2 separate regions of the Homo sapiens genome follow, and region 2 is linked to region 1. The links are contacts of gene promoters, found by promoter capture Hi-C in blood cells and fetal thymus (Javierre and others, 2016). All regions are on one chromosome and are shown on one strand. Each heading gives the region's core, a stretch centred on a gene start or on the middle of the fragment in contact. The rest is flanking DNA. Distances are from core to core; before and after follow the strand shown.

Region 1 (4,623 bases), core at 601-3,100:
AGAACCAACAGCAGGGGCACAACTCCTGGGGACAGTCAGGAAGAAGCCATGAGTAGAAAGGCAGGAAAGGGTGGCCTGGGGTCATGGCACACCGGATGGGGGTCCAACAATGGCCGCATGGGAGAGGACTCCTGGTTCCCCCTCACCACCTGCAGCTGTCTTCCTGGGGCCTAGTCTTCACTCTGTCACTGCGTGTGTTTCTCTGTCTCCCTTTCTCTACCTTAGTTCTCCCTGCTCTCTTCTGGGATGACGTAAAGATGAGGGCAAGACACAAGCCATTTCCACCCAAAGGGTGCAGGGTCCAGGAGAGACTCCCAGCCATCCCACCCTTTCCCTCAGGAAGGCAAAGGTCCTAAGGCCCCCTGGCCCTCTGGCTGGAAGGCACCAGGCCCCAGGCCCAGCAGGCACCAGGAGAAAGGAGACCCCTCTCTTCCCACCTCCCGTGGTGGCCCAGGTTCCTCAGCAGCGCTTCCCACTCACTGGCCCATTGCAGCCCAAATCTCCGAAGCCAGGCACCCATGGGGGCCACGGGGCATGGGGGAGTGGGGAGGAGTCCTCGGTTGACCCTCATCTCCCTCCCAAACCTGCCACTTGATTCTGGCTCCCTGGGCCAATTGCCCCCAATTCTGCCCCCGCCCCCATCATCCTCTATCTCTTCCTTCCCTAGTGTCCCCTATCTCACTCAAGCTCACCCCATTTCTGCCTGGCTGTCCCCACTCTCCATCCCCAAATCATCATTCAAAACTCTCTGTTCCCCCAGCTCCGGACAGCCCCTGACTCCATGCCTTCTCCCGACTCATCCGCTGTCCCTTGTCCCAGGGGTTCCCCTCCCTCCTAACACACACACACCGGCTCAGGGAGGGAGAGGAAATGGTGCACCAGGAGAGAGAAAAGGCAAAAGGTCATAGGCAGTCGGGTGGGCGGGGAGGAAGGAAAGTGAAAGGTGACAGGAGAGCTGGGAGCTGTCCCGACATGTCCTGGTTTGCCCCTCCCCCAGGGGGGCCTGTTCTCCCGACTCCCCCCAGGCCCCCTTAGACGCTTTTCCAGGGCTCTGCAGAAGGGCACCTGAAGATGGTGGGGGCCGGGGTCAGCGGGCGAGTGAGGCTGGAGACCTCCCCCGGATCCCCCATGCTGGAACAGCGGGGACAGGGGCCTCCTCAAGTTCACTTCTCCTGGGTCCCCTGTTCGTCCCAGCATCCCAAGGCAGTGCTGAGGCCCCGGGGTGGCTGCGGGAGGGGGGCCACACCCCTATATCTCACCTAGCGCAGACCACACGCTTCCAGACACCAGCAGATGGAGGCGGCACCTGCTCCCGTCCCAGGCCGGAGTTTGCAAGCTGCTCGCCGCCCGCGCCCCTCCCTGGGAGCAGCCCGGGACCGCGGTTGGAAAGGAGAAAGCGGAAAGAAAGAAAGAAAAGAAAAAGAGAGAGGGAGAGTGAATCTGGGAGAAAGCGCAGAGGGAAGAGCAGCCAGCGAGTGTCCGGAGCGAGGAGGAGGAGGAGGAGAAGGAGAGGGGGAAGAAGAGGAGGAGGAGGAAGGCTCGGCGCCCCCTCCCTCGCCGCCAACCTGCCGCGGGGCGTGCGGTGCTTGGGACCATGTGCCCGCGCTCGCTCCGGGCCGCCACCCAGCGCCTCCGGTGGCTGCGCGGGCGCCCCAAGTGTTCGTGTGTCTGCGGCGGGTGGGCGTCCGGCTCGCGCTGCCAAGCGCCCCAAGTTGCCGCCGCGCCCCGCAGCGGGGACGCGAAGCCGGCGCGGGGCGGGTGTATTTACCTGCCGCCAAGACCTTCATTATGGGCTGCACTTCAGAGGGCCTTGGAGGAAACCTCAGATGCCGGCAGTTTTCAGAGGTTCATGCTCAAATGGGGAATTTGCCTGATTTATATACTGGAGCCTGTGTTGTAAGACAGAAACAGCTATATTTAGCCGGGATCCCCAGTCCAGGAAGTTGTTTGAGGTGCATCATAGGAAATTATGAATGGAAGAAAGTGAGAGTGAAGGGGGGGGACGAGTGAGGGGGGAGGGTGGGGAGAACAGACTTTTTCCCTCTTCTAAGAATTTGATTGATAAAATTATAATGAAGCCTTCGACAAAACGCCCTGTGGTTTTCCTGCCTGGCTTGTCCCGGGAGTTGTCTGAAGATGGGCATCGCCAGGAGGGGGCCCCTGGCCGAGTCAGCAGGGGTCCCAGCAGTGGGCGCCCCAGACGGCCCTGACTCACCTGGGTTTGGGGAGGTAGCGAGTCTGGACTAGCAGATGGAGACTGGCCCCTGTGCCCCCTGGTTGGGGGGCTTTAGGGGGGCAGTGGGAGGAGGAGGGCTAGGGCTTGGCTGAGAAGGAGGCTCCAGGAGGAGGGGCCGGGGCCGGCGTGGACTTTAGACGGTCATAAAGTGGAACTGAACATGGGCGCTGGAAGCCACCCCAGAGGTAGCCTCCTCCAATCTGCACATTGCCACTGGGCCCCAAGGGGCTCCGAGGGGAACACGTTGCCCAGGGCCCCAGAGGGTCAGGCCTCCAGACACCACCAGTGCACTCGCCCTGCTGACCACTGTACCTGTGAGGCTGGGGAAGGGGCTAGGAAGACATGGGGGTAGGGGTGACTGACTCAGTTCTGTCGGGACACTCTGGGAAGGTGCTTCTGGGAAGGCGGTCCAGCATTTCCATTCTGAAGCAGGACTGAGAGAGGCTTGGCGAAATCGTACCCCAGTTTCCTCCTCCGGGTGCTGATTGATGGTTGGGGAAACTGAGAAGTGGCTGGTCCCTTCCAGACCTGCCTTGGAAGCCCCTTTGAGCCCAGCCTCAGAGAATGATGGAGGTCCCCAAAAAGTGCTTCTAGAGGCTCTAAGGCAGTGTCACATGTTCTGGCGTCTTCTGAGGCCAGGCGATTTGTGAATGAGGAAGGGCAGAAAGGAGCAGTGGGGAGCCGGGCAAAATGAGCACAGGGACACCTCCAAGAAATGCAACAGAAAAGTGAAAATAAATACACCCTATGAGATGCGGGAATGCCGGCCAGACAGCATGGCCACGCGTCTGGGGCCATGCCGTCCCTAAAGCTGCCAGGGGACCCCCAGTACCAGGAGATGATTTAGTCCCCTGTGGCCCCTTCCCAGCCCTTCCGCCTGACCCTGACCTGAGATCAAGGTGTGTGAGTTGGTTTTCCAAGGCCAGGGAGCTCTTGCAGCCTCGCCCGGGCCCCCACCGCCCCCTCGCCCATCCTCCATGCCCCCAGTTCCTGCCTCTTGCCACATCCCAGACCTGCCCAGCCACGGGTTCCTCCTTCATCGTGCCAGGACGAGCCCTGGTGCCTGCTGCCGTTCCCCACCACACACACACCCTGCTTTATCTACGCTCTTGCCCCCCATTCTCTCCCAGCAGGGCCTCGGATGTGAGGTGATAAAACTGCCCATCCCAGCTGGCACTTCCCGAACTGGCTCTCCTTCCTCCTTCCTGCCTCTCACCCCACACCTTGTCTCTTCTTTGAGGGACCATGGAGGGCCCCACTTGGCACTTACTGCTCCTATACACTTGCTCTGGGGTCAGCGTACACTACTAGGAGACTCACCTGCCCTGGCCTGGCTCAGGTAACCCCACATCCCAGGACACCCCAGCTCAACCCTTCTTCTTACACCTCCCCCAGCATCTCCTGCACAAGGACCTGACCACTCAGAGCACGTGAGCTCTGGACCAGTCCCCAGTCCCATCCCACATCACCCAGACCCCTGCCACCTGACTCAGCCTGGCTCTCCTGACATGGACCCCAAATCCATGTGACCAGGGGCTCACTGTGGCCTCCACCCATCAAACCCCCGTCGCCCGGCCTGAGTCTCTCATTAGGCTCAAGAGTTCTGCAGCTGCCCCTACATCTACCATTCTGCCCAGTCTCCCCTGCATCCTTCCAAGCGGACCCCCAGGCCCTTGCATGCCTTCTGGCAAGCCAGACCCCACATCAGCCCTATAATCCACCCCCAATCGCTGTTTAATCTCAGCCCCACCCCACAGGAAACAGGAAGTGAGGACAGGGTCTAGAAGACACTGACACTAAGGCCCCTTAACCCCAGCCCTGACTGGCCCCTCCAGTGCCTCAGTTTCCCCTCCTCTCACGGTACCTGACTTGGTTTGTGCTCCCCAAGTGCTCTGGGCCCCTCGGCGCCCCAGGCCCAGCCTCCCCCTCCTGTCCATGTCCAGGCACCACCTGCTCTGGGCCTCTGGAGGGAAGGCTGGGCAGGGTCTCGGAGCCGCAAGTCCGTGTGCCGCCTGCAACGTGGCTGCGGCCCCCAGGAATCAGCCGCCCAGGCTACGCTCCAGGCCCACTTTGGTCTCTGGGAGTTTGTTTTCTTCCCTCCCTCTCTATGCTGTGTGTGTGTGTTCCCCGCCCCCGGCCGGCTCCCTCATGGAAGGCACCCTCCCTTCTTGGCTGCCGGCTCCCAGGGTCACGACCCCAGGCCCCACCCTGGAGTGGCAGCCCCGGCTTGGCCCCTTCCAGCTGTGACTTCATCCACAGCCTGTCCTGCTCCTGCAGATGGGGCCTGCTGGGGATTTGACCGGTCTCAGGGTGAGCGGGACAGTCCCGGCCACATGGGACCCCCTGACATTGAGCAGAGGTTACTAGGCCAGAACCCAGGAGTGCTG
Region 2 (2,831 bases), core at 1-2,500, 40 kb after region 1:
GTCAAAATACTTTCCTTGGAGGCCCCAGGAGGGAGAGGCACTGTCAGGACTCACCTGGCCAGGGAAGGCAACCCCACCAGAGGCAGAACGGAGGTCAGCGGGGCAGCTGGCCCAGGAAGCCTTTGGGGAATGGCTCAGGCCTCAGGCAGGGACTGTGCAAACGCCGAGGCTGCGCAGGGAGTGATGGGTTGGGGGCTTAAGCCCCGAGCACCGTGTTCCCCTGCATGGGCAGACACGCAGTCAGGCTAGCACCTGCCCACTCCACCTGTGAGTGTACACAGGTGTCCGCGTAAAAGCCGGTGCCTGCACGCAGCTTACATACAGAGAGCGGAACGAGGGTCCCCAGCAGAACAGGGGGCTCGTTCCAGAGCTTAAGGAAATAGCTTAGAGAAGTCTTTGGAAGCCTGGGTCGAGGGGAGAGCAGGGAGGCTGCTCTGTTGCCCATGGGCCTCAGGAAGCCAGGCCTTCCTGCCGCCGCTGGAGGACCTCGATGACGCTGCCGATACCGTCCTCGGGCACCTGAGGGCAGGTGGGCAGGAGGGAAGGGTCAAGGCGGAAGCTGGCCAGGGCCACCCCTGACTTCCTGGCCCAGCTGAGACTACCTCCTGCCGCCCACATTTCTGGGCCTCACTCTCCCCTCTGCCCCAGCCCTTGGTGCTCACCAGGGCGTGGTCGAAGTTGAAGGTGCTGATGTAGTAGGCAGAGATGTCAGCGGCAGCCAGGGGACCTGCAATCTGTGCCACGATGCCACATTCATCTGAGGGTGGTGGAGGAAGGCCACATGTGGCACATGCCGGTTGCTCCCCAGACACTCCCCAGCCCCCCAACACCGGGAACAGCCCTCACCAAAGCCCAGGGGCTGTCCACCGATGCGCACCATCCTCCACAGCTCCCCCGAGGAGCTGGTCAGCAGGAGGTCACTGGGGAACCTGGGGAGGGAGATGGGTGATGGGCAGGGCACCCCCATCCACCCCTGCCTGACCGTGAGCTCTGGGACAGGTACACCTGCTGACCTCAGAGTCTGATGCCCCACCTCCTCCCTGCCTGGGACTGGCTGGGGCCTGGGGCCCACCCGGGGTCAGGGGTCACCTACTTTTTCTGTGTTTCAGCATCCATGACAATGGAGATATAACCCTCGATGAGGGAGAAGGCAAAGAACGTGATGGAGCTGGGTTCAGGACTGCTAGAGGCTGCCTCCTTGGGGGTGCTGGGGAGGGATGGGAGGTTTAGGGGCTCTACCAGGCACCCAGCCTACTGCCCCTGCTCCCGATCAGCCTCCAGAACCCTGGGAAGGAGCTGGTATGGTGGCCTGGGCAGGCTCTGCCATATCTGCTACCCGCCCAAGGGTCCAGCCCTCTGGAAGGTGTGGGTGGGGATGGGGGAGGACAATGAACCCAGCCTGTGCCAAAAACAAAGGATTCCACGGTGAGAGGGCCAGACCAGGGCATGGCTCAGACGACCCCACTGGAAAGGGATCCAGCTTTGGGGCAAGAACCTTCCCCGAACATCAGTGAAGCACAAGTGAGCATCATGGGCTGCCAGGAACCCCAAGAGAGGACAAGCAAGAGGTGCAAAACTGATAGATGGGCGGAAAGTGGTGGGACAGAGTGTAGGGAACAGTGCTGTGAGGACAAAGACGAAGTTCCAAGGTCCACCTGTGCGAGTAGAAGAGGACATCTATGAGGGTGGTGGCGATGGCTGGAAGCGTCTCAGGGTCCAGTGTGAGGACACAGAAGCGGTTCTGTGGGCTCTGGATGGGATGCACCGTGGGGCTGGGCCCTGCTGGAGGACAGCAGCAGGTGAAAAGGTGTCCGTGGGCTGGGGCGCCCCCTGGTGGCTAGTCAGGGAGAGGCGTGGGCCAGGGGCAGGTCTTGCTATCCAGGAACTGGCCGGGGTCCTCCTGCCCCACTGGGGCCCAAAAGGGAAGGGACCCAGTGGGAAGAGGAGGCCCTGCCCAAGTCCAAGTGTCAGGGGGCGGCCCTCACCATGCTGAGTGCGGGGAAAGCCATTGCTGGAATCATCCCTCGTCACAGGCACAGGCTCTCCGCCCACCTCGCGGTAAATGTCGAACTCCTGGGCCAGCGTGTGGATCACCACGGACAGGTCCTGCTCCCGCACCTGGGCCACAGCAGATGGCACATCACATGGGCTCCCAGGTACCTATATCCACCCTGCTCTGCATCAGCACCAGCAGGAAACTCACCAGGATGAAGTCCGTCTGGTAAGTGGACAGCATCAGCACAGACACGTGGTGCTCGGCCAGTGGCGCGATGACCGAACGGGCGATCTTGGTGACCCCAGCAGCCTGCACTGCCGCACCGCTGTGAGACGACACGTTCAGCACCAGCCATGTGGCCTCAGCTACTTGCAGGAACTCAGATGGGGGCAGCTCTGTGGGCAGGGGACATGTCAGGTCAGGGTCTACAAGGCTGGCCCCTGCCCCTCTCTGAGCCTCAGTTTCCCTTTCTGTGCCTTGGAGGGCTCCATCAAGGTAAGGGCAGGTCTGGAGGCTGGGGCTCCTGAAGTCCCTATGTGTGCAAAGACTGAGAAAGGCTTCAAGTGCTGGCCTGGTGGCATTGAAACTTCCCACTTAAGATCAGAGGTCCAGATTCAGACAGACCTGGGTTCAAATCCCAGCTTTGTTAATTTGTCTTATGACCTGGGGTGGGTGATTTGAGTCTCAGTTTCCTCATCTGTAAAATGGGACGACAATATCTACCTCACTACGGTGTCTTCTGTGGGTTAGCAGAAGCTTTGTACCACATGGCACCACCAGGGGGCATTCGCAGATCAGGTTGGCTGGGGGATTGCCTTCCCCTTTTGCAGACCCA

Evidence for each region. Contacts are between HindIII fragments. The CHiCAGO score rates a contact against its expected background, and 5 or more counts as called.
Region 2: a contact is called between a fragment that was not itself captured here and the fragment with the promoter of LIF in region 1, in 2 of 17 cell types (monocytes and M2 macrophages). The highest score is 5.3, in monocytes.

Annotation. Positions count from the first base shown.
Region 1 is chr22:30,244,909-30,249,531 of GRCh38, forward strand. It overlaps LIF (LIF interleukin 6 family cytokine), which reads right to left and starts at 1,851. Exons shown (of 3, transcript NM_002309.5): 1 at 1,769-1,851; 2 at 1-25. The coding sequence starts at 1,787. It overlaps LIF-AS2 (LIF antisense RNA 2), which reads left to right and starts at 1,302. Exons shown (of 1, transcript NR_148946.1): 1 at 1,302-2,085. RefSeq lists an enhancer at 1-301. The HindIII fragment of the contact is 10,846 bases long and covers 1-4,623 here.
Region 2 is chr22:30,285,170-30,288,000 of GRCh38, forward strand. CASTOR1 (cytosolic arginine sensor for mTORC1 subunit 1) reads right to left here. Exons shown (of 9, transcript NM_001037666.3): 3 at 2,204-2,391; 4 at 1,986-2,118; 5 at 1,656-1,779; 6 at 1,094-1,207; 7 at 847-929; 8 at 663-757; 9 at 1-519. The coding sequence ends at 451. Among named protein-coding and RNA genes, the nearest start is that of CASTOR1, 2.9 kb to the right of the region's middle. The HindIII fragment of the contact is 2,999 bases long and covers 1-2,750 here.